Linked DNA regions of Homo sapiens: region 2 is linked to region 1. Evidence: promoter capture Hi-C in human tissues and cell types (Jung and others, 2019). All regions are on one chromosome and are shown on one strand. The core of a region is centred on a gene start or on the middle of the fragment in contact, and the rest is flanking DNA. Distances in the headings are between cores, read along the strand shown. Region 1 holds the start of COA3 (cytochrome c oxidase assembly factor 3). Region 2 holds the start of TUBG2 (tubulin gamma 2).

Evidence for each region. Contacts are between HindIII fragments. The study calls those that stand out against the background at their distance.
Region 2: a contact is called between the fragment with the promoter of TUBG2 here and the fragment with the promoter of COA3 in region 1, in 3 of the 25 tissues and cell types used here (mesenchymal stem cells, neural progenitor cells and small bowel).

What each region holds. Positions count from the first base shown.
Region 1 is chr17:42,796,655-42,800,864 of GRCh38, forward strand. It overlaps COA3 (cytochrome c oxidase assembly factor 3), which reads right to left and starts at 2,050. Exons shown (of 2, transcript NM_001040431.3): 1 at 1,814-2,050; 2 at 971-1,513. The coding sequence starts at 2,027. The coding sequence ends at 1,407. It overlaps CNTD1 (cyclin N-terminal domain containing 1), which reads left to right and starts at 2,207. Exons shown (of 7, transcript NM_173478.3): 1 at 2,207-2,582. The coding sequence starts at 2,414. It overlaps WNK4 (WNK lysine deficient protein kinase 4), which reads left to right. Exons shown (of 19, transcript NM_032387.5): 19 at 32-412. The coding sequence ends at 34. RefSeq lists enhancers at 1,733-1,802, 1,943-1,992, 2,013-2,062. The HindIII fragment of the contact is 12,523 bases long and covers 1-4,210 here.
Region 2 is chr17:42,657,265-42,661,674 of GRCh38, forward strand. It overlaps TUBG2 (tubulin gamma 2), which reads left to right and starts at 2,020. Exons shown (of 11, transcript NM_016437.3): 1 at 2,020-2,288; 2 at 2,570-2,682; 3 at 2,885-3,052; 4 at 3,375-3,443. The coding sequence starts at 2,240. RefSeq lists enhancers at 1,852-2,619, 1,977-2,036, 2,047-2,116, 2,167-2,236. The HindIII fragment of the contact is 23,957 bases long and covers 1-4,169 here.

The DNA of each region.
Region 1 (4,210 bases), core at 800-3,299:
GTTTCTTCATCACTTTTTCTTTTCCCTCCAGTGAATTCAGAACAGAAGCCATGTATCTCCCCCACACCAGGGCCCACCATGGAGCTTGTGTTCTCAGAATCTGATGCTTTCTGATCAACAAAACTGAGCAAGGAAGATCCCAACACTGAAGGGGTAGAAGGCCAGGGGGGCATGGAGAGTGCAGCTCCATTATAGTGAAGAGCCAAACATATGTGAACTGTTTGCTGTGTGGAGGTGTTAGTTCTGCTGCCTACCATCTTCATCTCTAGCACCTCCCCTGCCAAGAGTCAACCACTAAGCAATCCCACCCAAGCCTGGATGCTTCTAGAGGGGCCCACTCCCAGCTGGGAGAGTGTAGGGGATATGCTCACACCACATTAGCAGCAACCAATAAAAATGCTGGAAACAAGAACGCCGTGAATCCATATGCCATGCCTTAGGAATTGGGGGAGCAAAGACTTGTGGGGTGAGGCAGGGGAGGATTTAAAAGGGACTTTCTTTTCACAATGGGAGGCAGGGGTGGAAGCTGCCCAGCCCTCTGGCTTCCTGCCATCAGTTAATGAGGAAACTGCAAGGTCAGTGATCCACTTGACTAAGTTAGGATCCCCTCCAGACCCCACCCTAGACCTGTATAGGCAGGTACCAGGGAAAGTTAAAAGAATGAAGACTGCTTGTCTTTCACCCTTCATCCACCTCTCTCTCCCTCCCTCTCTCTGGGGATGGGAAAAGCAGTAGAGTTACAGTATGTTCTTGTGGGTAGAGGACAGAAGAGTGACCTTCCTTCCCCTAAGACGTGGGTTCAGTCTCAAACTGCCCAGTGATCTCTCCCTTAAATCAGGTGGAAAGATCTCATGGAAAAAGTAATTCTAGTTAAACATTTACAGCTCCCTGGGGCAATGCCACCACTGCAGCTACTGCTTGTGAAGCTTTCCAGCATGAAGTGCCATATGCTGCCTCTCAGCCTCCATACTCACTTGACTCCAGGAGAATGACTCAGTTTATTATTCTCAATTTGACCCTATGTATCCCACTGTAGGCTCAAACACTGCACAGAGCTGCCACGTCTAACCTCGTAACAACTGCGTCCCTGGAAGGTGAAGGGGGTAAACCACAAAGTCAGAAACTTTGGGAAAAGCCACGGTCGCATGCACACCTCTCAAACAAGGAAACAAACTACAAGAAAGGGCTCAGTCATTGTACACAGCAAGTGTGCAGTGGGCAAAGTTCTGTTCTTTTGACATTGGCCAAATGCGTAAGTCCCTGGTTTCTTGGGCTCAATCACGGTCCAAGGTTAGTAAGAAGGCCAACAATGTTGTGAGCAGGATTCAATTTCTACAGGGTCATGGGGCATCATCCACCATGTGAAGGGGCTCCAGCAGGTTGGACATGATCAATACCCATCCAGATTAGGACCCTGACGCCCTTGCCAGAGCTCGGGCTCGGGCAGCTTTGGCCTCGTCTTCTAGCTCATCTAGGAAACGCTCCTGGGAAATCGAGTAGAAGGTGTAACCATCTGGGGAGGTAGGTTCAGGAAACCACACAGAATATGCACATTCCCCTTTCCTAGATTTGCTCTACCACTCTTGTTACTCTCCCAAATCAGTGATTCCGGCTTCCCGCCGCTGCTGTTTCTAAACCCTGAACCCCAATTCCGTTATTATTAATAAATCAAATTAAAAGAGTACCTTAGGAATAACAAAGGAAAGTACTACCCATTTTACCCCAAAATTAAACGGGTGGTTCAGCCCTCTTGCACACTCTGTTCCCCTGCCCCTATATGCGGTCCCCTTGAGTCTACAACACGGACGGATACAAATAGCCAACACCAGGGCCCCGATGCCTAGGCCGGTCACGATGTTCCGGGTTCGCCGCCGTGGTAGGACCTTCTGCCACTGGGCAAGCTCCGCCTGCCGCATGGAATGCAGTTGCTCGGGTGTCAGCTTCTCCCGAGTCGGGTCGATACGCTGAGCGAACGGGGCCTCTCCACGCTTAGAATCCAGAGGGTCACCAGCTCCCGAAGACGCCATGTTGCCACTCCTCCCTTCGCGGTGCCGCCGCGCGGGCCTCGCTGGGAACAGTAGCCCTTGGCCGCTGCAGTGGACTCTGGGAGTTGTAGTCCGCGTGCCCTTTGCGGGGCAGAGCCGCGGTTCCCGGGCACAGGGGATGGACGCGGGAGGTGAGAAGCGGACGTGCTTTCTGATTGGCTGAGGAGTCCGTGGCCGTTGGGGCGGGAAAAAGCTGTGGAGGGTTCGAGGCTGTGGTGGTAATTGGGTTTTCCTCAGACTTGAGGCGACGACACACTCATTGGAAGGGGACGAGGAATCCAGGGTGTGGCAGAAGACTGGAGAGGAGCTAAGGGGGTCGGTATGTGGATCCAGTGAACCCGTCCAGGTGCCCCAAGAGGCTCGTGAATATGGACGGACCCATGAGGCCACGATCGGCCTCCCTCGTTGACTTTCAGTTTGGAGTTGTCGCCACAGAGACGATTGAAGACGCCCTGCTTCACTTGGCCCAGCAGAATGAGCAAGCAGTGAGGGAGGCTTCGGGGCGGCTGGGCCGCTTCAGGGAGCCCCAGATCGTGGGTGCGGCTGCAGGGCCGGGGTGCTGGGTTCTTGGGAGACTGGGGCTTGTGTCTTTCAGGCACCGACCTTGAGATTCCGTTGATTTTATTCATTCAGAGAATGTTTGCTAACACCTCTCTGTGGGGTGCTGGGGATATAGTGATGGATAAGTCACAACAGTGCCCTCCCCTTGATTTCTTCGACATGTATGGAATACTTGAGTGGCACCGCTTGGCTAGAAAGATGAAATAGAGGGCCAGGCATGGTGGCTTACACCTGTAATCCCAGCACTTTGGGAGGCTGAGGTGGGAGGTTCACCTGAGGTCAGGAGTTCGAGACCAGCCTGACCAACATGGTGAAATCCTGTCTCTACTAAAAGTACAAAAATTAGCCAGGACTGGTGGCGCGCACCTCTAATCCCAGCTACTCGGGAGGTTGAGACAGGAGAACTGTTTGAACCCAGGAGGCGGAAGTTGCAGTGAGCCGAAATCGTGCCATTGCACTTCAGCCTAGACGACAAGAATGAAACTCCGTCTCAAAAAAAAAAAAAAAAAAAAAAAAAAAAAAAGGCTGGGCGCGGTGGCTCACGCCTGTAATCCCAGCATTTTGGGAGGCTGAGGCGGGCAGATCACGAGGTCAGGAGATCGAGACCATCCTGGCTAACATGGTGAAACCCCGTCTCTACTAAAAATACAAAAAAAAGCCGGGTGTGGTGGCGGGCGCCTGTAGTCCCAGCTACTCCGGAGGCTGAGGGAGGAGAATGGCATGAACCCGGGAGGCGGAGCTTGCAGTGAGCTGAGATGGCGCCACTACACTCCAGCCTGAGTGACGGGTGACAGAGCGAGACTCTGTCTAAAAAAAAAAAAAAAAAAAAAGAGAAAAGAAAGATGAAATAGAGATAGAGGTCTTGCCTTCAAACCATGTGCAATTTGGGGGAGATATTAGAACAAATATGCAATGACTAGGTACTATGGTTAGATAAGAGACGTCAGAGAGAAATAAAACAAGCGTTTATGGGGGTTGAGAGGAGCGATGGGGTAATAGGAAGAATTCAGGGGATGGCCCAGGCATCGGGACATTTCAGGCAGACCTTGAAGGAAGGAGGACATTGGGTTGGTGAAGGGGGAGGAAGGAGACAGTGTTTCTACCAAAAAGAGGTAGCATGAGTAAAGCTATGGAAATGGGGTGCTTAGGGTGCATGTGGGTACAGTGTAGTCCATGTTGGCCAGTGCATGTGGAAGAATAGTTGAAATTAATACTGGAAAGGTAGTTTGGAGACATTCCATGTGGAAGTTTGAATGCCAAGGGGAAGAGTTTATCCTTGGTTTGGTAGGAAACCAAGAAGACATTGAAGGTTTTTAAATAAGGGAGTGAAGGTTTTAAAATAAGGGATACGATGGTAACCCTGCCTTAGTAAACATTATTTTGGCAGTGATGTAAAGGAGGTAAAGGATGGATTAAACCAGAGGGAGATGGGATGTAGGCAGACAGGTAGAGTCAATGTCAGTAGGCTAGGTGATAGGGCAGAGGGAATAACAAGGGAGGGTGGATTAAAAACATTCTAGAGGCAAAGTCTAGGGTTCTGCTGTGGATAAATTTAGGAAGTGAAGGAGGAAAACGTGACTATGCTAAACGGTTGAGCCTGGAAG
Region 2 (4,410 bases), core at 770-3,269, 140 kb before region 1:
AGGCAGGAGAATCGCTTGAACCCGGGAGGTGGAGCTTGCGGTGAGTTGAGATCGAGCCATTGCACTCCAGCCTGGGCAACGAGAGCGAAACTCCATCTAAAAAAAAAAAAAAAAAAAGATTGTAACTTGGCTACTTGGCTGAGCATGGTGGCTCATGCCTGTAACCCAGCACTTTGGGAGGCTGAGGCAGGTGGATTACCTGAGCTCAGGGGTTCGAGACCAGTCCGGGCAACATGACAAAACCCCTGTCTCTACTGAAAATACAAAAAAATTAGCCGGGTGTGGTGGTGCACACCTGTAATCTCAGCTACTAGGGAGGCTGAGCCAGGAGAATCGCTTGAACCTGAGAGAGGCAGAGGTTGTAGTGAGCCGAGATCATGCCACTGCACTCCAACCTGGGCAACAGAGTGAGACTTAGTCTCAAAAAAAAAAAAAAATCTTAAGTGGCATTTACAGTGTTTGTGATTCTAGATCAGGCTACGTTTCATTCCATAAAATAAATAGAATGAGTGTTCAGATGAGTCAAGCACAGGTTAGTTTTTATGGACAAAAAAGGGTAGAGAAAAATAGAAACAGAAGGAAAAAAAGCAGATGGGTCCTTTCAAAGTTACTTTTCTTGTAAAAGGACTTCCGTATCATGCCGGCTCACACTGGCTTGTTTGGGGTTTTGGCTCTTCCTTCCCTCTCCTGATTCCTCTGAAGGTTTGATAAACAACTTAGTGTTGCTTAGTGACATAGAACTTTAGCGTGAGTGACTCCATTTTGGTTTGGTCTGTTGAGCCAAGCACAGGAGCTCAGTGCAAATCAATGGCCTCCTATAAAATTTATTTAACTGAACCCTTGTGCATTGCTGGTGGGAATTTAAAATGGTGCAGCTACCATGGAAAATCGTATGGCGATTCCTCAGAACATTAAACACAATTACCATATGATCCAGCAATTCTACCTCTGGGTGTATATCCAAAATAATTGAAAGCAGGGACTCGAACAGATATTTGTACACTCACATTCAAAGCAGCAACATTCACAATAGCCAAAAGGTGGAAGCAACCCAAATGTCCATGGAGGGATGAATGGTTATGCAAAATGTGGTACATCTATACAATGGAATATTATTCAGTTGTAAAAAGGAAGGAAATTCTGACACATGCTACGAAATGGAAGGATCTTGAAGATATTATGTTAAGTGAAAGAAGCCAGACCCAAAAAGACAAATACTGTATAATTCCACTCATATCAGGTGCCTAGAGTAGTCAAGGGGAAGTTACTGTTTAATCGCGATAGAGTTTCAGTTTGGGAAGATAAGAAAGTTCTAGAAAAGAATGGTGGTGGTGGTTACAGAACAATGTGAGTGTACTTGGTGCCACAGAACTGTATGCAGTACTTACAAATGGTTACAATGGTAAATTTAGGCCAGGAGTGGTGGCTCATGCCTGTAATCCCAGCATTTTGGGAGGCCAAGGCAGGAGGATTGATTGAGGCCAGTAGTTTAAGACCATCTTGGGCAACACGGTGAGATCCCCATCTCTATAAAAATACATTTTAAAAATTTAAAAATTAGCTGGGCGTGGTAGCACACGCCTGTAGTCCCAGCTACTCGGGAGACTGAAGTGGGAGGATCACTTAAGCCAGAAGTTCAAGGCTACAGTGAGCTATGATCGCGCCACTGCACTCCAGCCTGGGCGACAGAGCGAGACCCTTCTAAAAAATAAAAAGGTAACATACATGTGTATGTATTGTAACACCATTAAAAAACAGAAATTTAAACGAAGAAAAGTTGGCTTCTAGCCCTTTGATCTAGCAAAGCTGACAGTGTCCTCACCTACCAATATAGGTAGATGACTCCTTACACGTGGACAAGCACATCCACCTGGCCGCTTCTCCCCTTTCCTCCCCTCCCCCGTTCCTCTCCTCCCCAACACATCCAGGTTCCGACCCTGCCACCCCCAACGAGTCTCACTGCGCAGGCGCGGAGCGGTGGGCAGGAGCGGGCGTGGCCTGACTCTGCGCCTGTGCGGAATTCCAGCTGCGACTGCTGAGGGAGAAAATGATGCCCAGGTTGGGCTCCCCGGCCCACCGGCCGAGGAGAGGCCTGCGCTGCACACGCGCAGACCGAGCATCCGCGTCAAGAGGCGAAGAGAGCGCGCGCTCCCCACGTCCTGCGCTCCTGGCTGCCGGGCATTCGTCTCAGCCGTGACTCTCGCCAGGCCGGGGCTGGCGCGCCCACGTCTGAAGAGCGATGCCCCGGGAGATCATCACCCTGCAGCTGGGCCAGTGCGGCAACCAGAGTGAGCAAGCGAGCGCCGGCCCCGCCGGTCTCTGGTTCTGCCCCTTCGGGTCCCACCCAAGTGCCTGGCTTCCACCAGTCCCCCTTTCCCTTCCATGAACCCCCTGCCCTGCTGCTCTGGATAACCCAGACCGAGAGCTGCGCCTCCAGCCCGGGGCTGGGGCAGCTACCAAACCCAGGCATCTTGGGTCCACCCTCTGATCGTGTCAGCCTCTGAGACTAAAACTGGGCTCCTCAGGCCTTAAGGCTCCAGCAGACCCGGGCATCTCCCCCCTCCCCCAGTTGGGTTCGAGTTCTGGAAACAGCTGTGCGCCGAGCATGGTATCAGCCCCGAGGGCATCGTGGAGGAATTCGCCACCGAGGGCACTGACCGCAAGGACGTCTTTTTCTACCAGGTGCCCCCAGCGACTTGGCCGGGGGCGGCAGTGGCCCAAGGGGGCGGAAGGGAAGGGAGTGGCCTGGTACTGGGAACCCCGCTGGGCAGTAGGGCCAGGCGGCTGGCTTGAGGAGGGAGGGCCGGAGGGAGCCAGAGTTGGGAGGACTTCGGACTTGGGCCGCCCTAGCTGATTGGGCCCCCTCCTGGACTCCCCTTGACAGGCAGACGATGAGCACTACATCCCCCGGGCCGTGCTGCTGGACTTGGAACCCCGGGTGATCCACTCCATCCTCAACTCCCCCTATGCCAAGCTCTACAACCCAGAGAACATCTACCTGTCGGAACATGGAGGAGGAGCTGGCAACAACTGGGCCAGCGGATTCTCCCAGGTGTCCTAGCGACCATTCCAGAGACCTTTGATATTCCCATCCAGAGGCAAGGCAGGCTCAAGCTACTAGGAATTTGACCTGACTGACAGAAAATAAGAGACAAAAGGATGTCCCGAACAAGAGGGACAGCCAGGGAGAGGTTTATGCAAATTTTGTGCAAATCATTTGCAATAGTAGCACTTCTGGGTTGAGGGCTACAGCCTAGGCTCTGCTTCAGGGTGGCAACAATATTCCAGGGTAGACAGAATTCTTGGTGCTGTGCTGAGAAAAGATGCTCTCTGGAACCTTTGGCCTGACCCTCCCTTTCCATATCTCTATACAGGGTGAGAAAATTCATGAAGACATCTTTGACATCATAGACCGAGAAGCAGATGGAAGTGACAGTTTGGAGGTGAAGTTATGGAGTGGGGGAAGGAATGGGCAGGGAGGCCGAAGAGTGCTGGGGACAGGTCAGGAGGTGGCCTGGATAGGTAATATGAGGGGAGCAATTCAATTCAAAACCCGTTTATGGAGCATCAGATGTGGGATATTGAGGTGAATAAGATATAATCTTTGTTCTCAAGGAAGTCATAAATCTGAATGGCACCGGCCCCTTAGGCATGAGTCATTCAGCTGCTTCTCCAGCTCCAAACCTTCCCAAGGAGCCTCAGCCTGGATGCATAAGAGGAAGCTTTGAGACATTGGCGTTTTGGGAATGGAGAATGAACCAAGCCGAAGTCTCTCCCCCAGATCCTTGGAGACTGCCTCTCCATCTCTCCCCATGCTGGGTGCGATATGTTCCTGGCTTACAGCTCTTATAACCCATGTAATTTCCTAAGGGACTAGAGCAATAATAGTATGTTTTGTTAAAATATTTGACCTTTTGTCCTTGGTTTCTGAAACAGCTCCAGAACAGCTCCAGAGTGATAAAGGTGAAAGACAGTCTTTTGTTATTTATAACAAGCCCGTTTCTTTTAGTTTAATCTTTCATTTTATTTTAATTAGTTAATTTTACTAACCACTGTACTAAGGAGGAACAAGTGCCTTTCAACCAAACCTGAGCTTATGTTAAAGAGGCGATTTTTGGAAAGTCCCAGATAGCCACTGGATGGGGGGCTGGTTGCCAGGGGAACAAACCTGGTGCTCTGAGGGTTGGAATTTACAGGCCCACCCCTCACCTCTGGGGAAGGGAGAGGGGATGAAGATTGAGTAGAGCACCAATTGCCAATGATTTAATCGGTCATGCCTGTGTAATGAAGCCTCCATAAAAATCCAAAAGGACTGAGTTTGGGGGCTTCCAGGAAGGTGAACAAGAACACATCCACAGGCCAGGAGGGTGCAAACCCAACGCCACAGGGCAGCAACTCCTATGCGCCGGA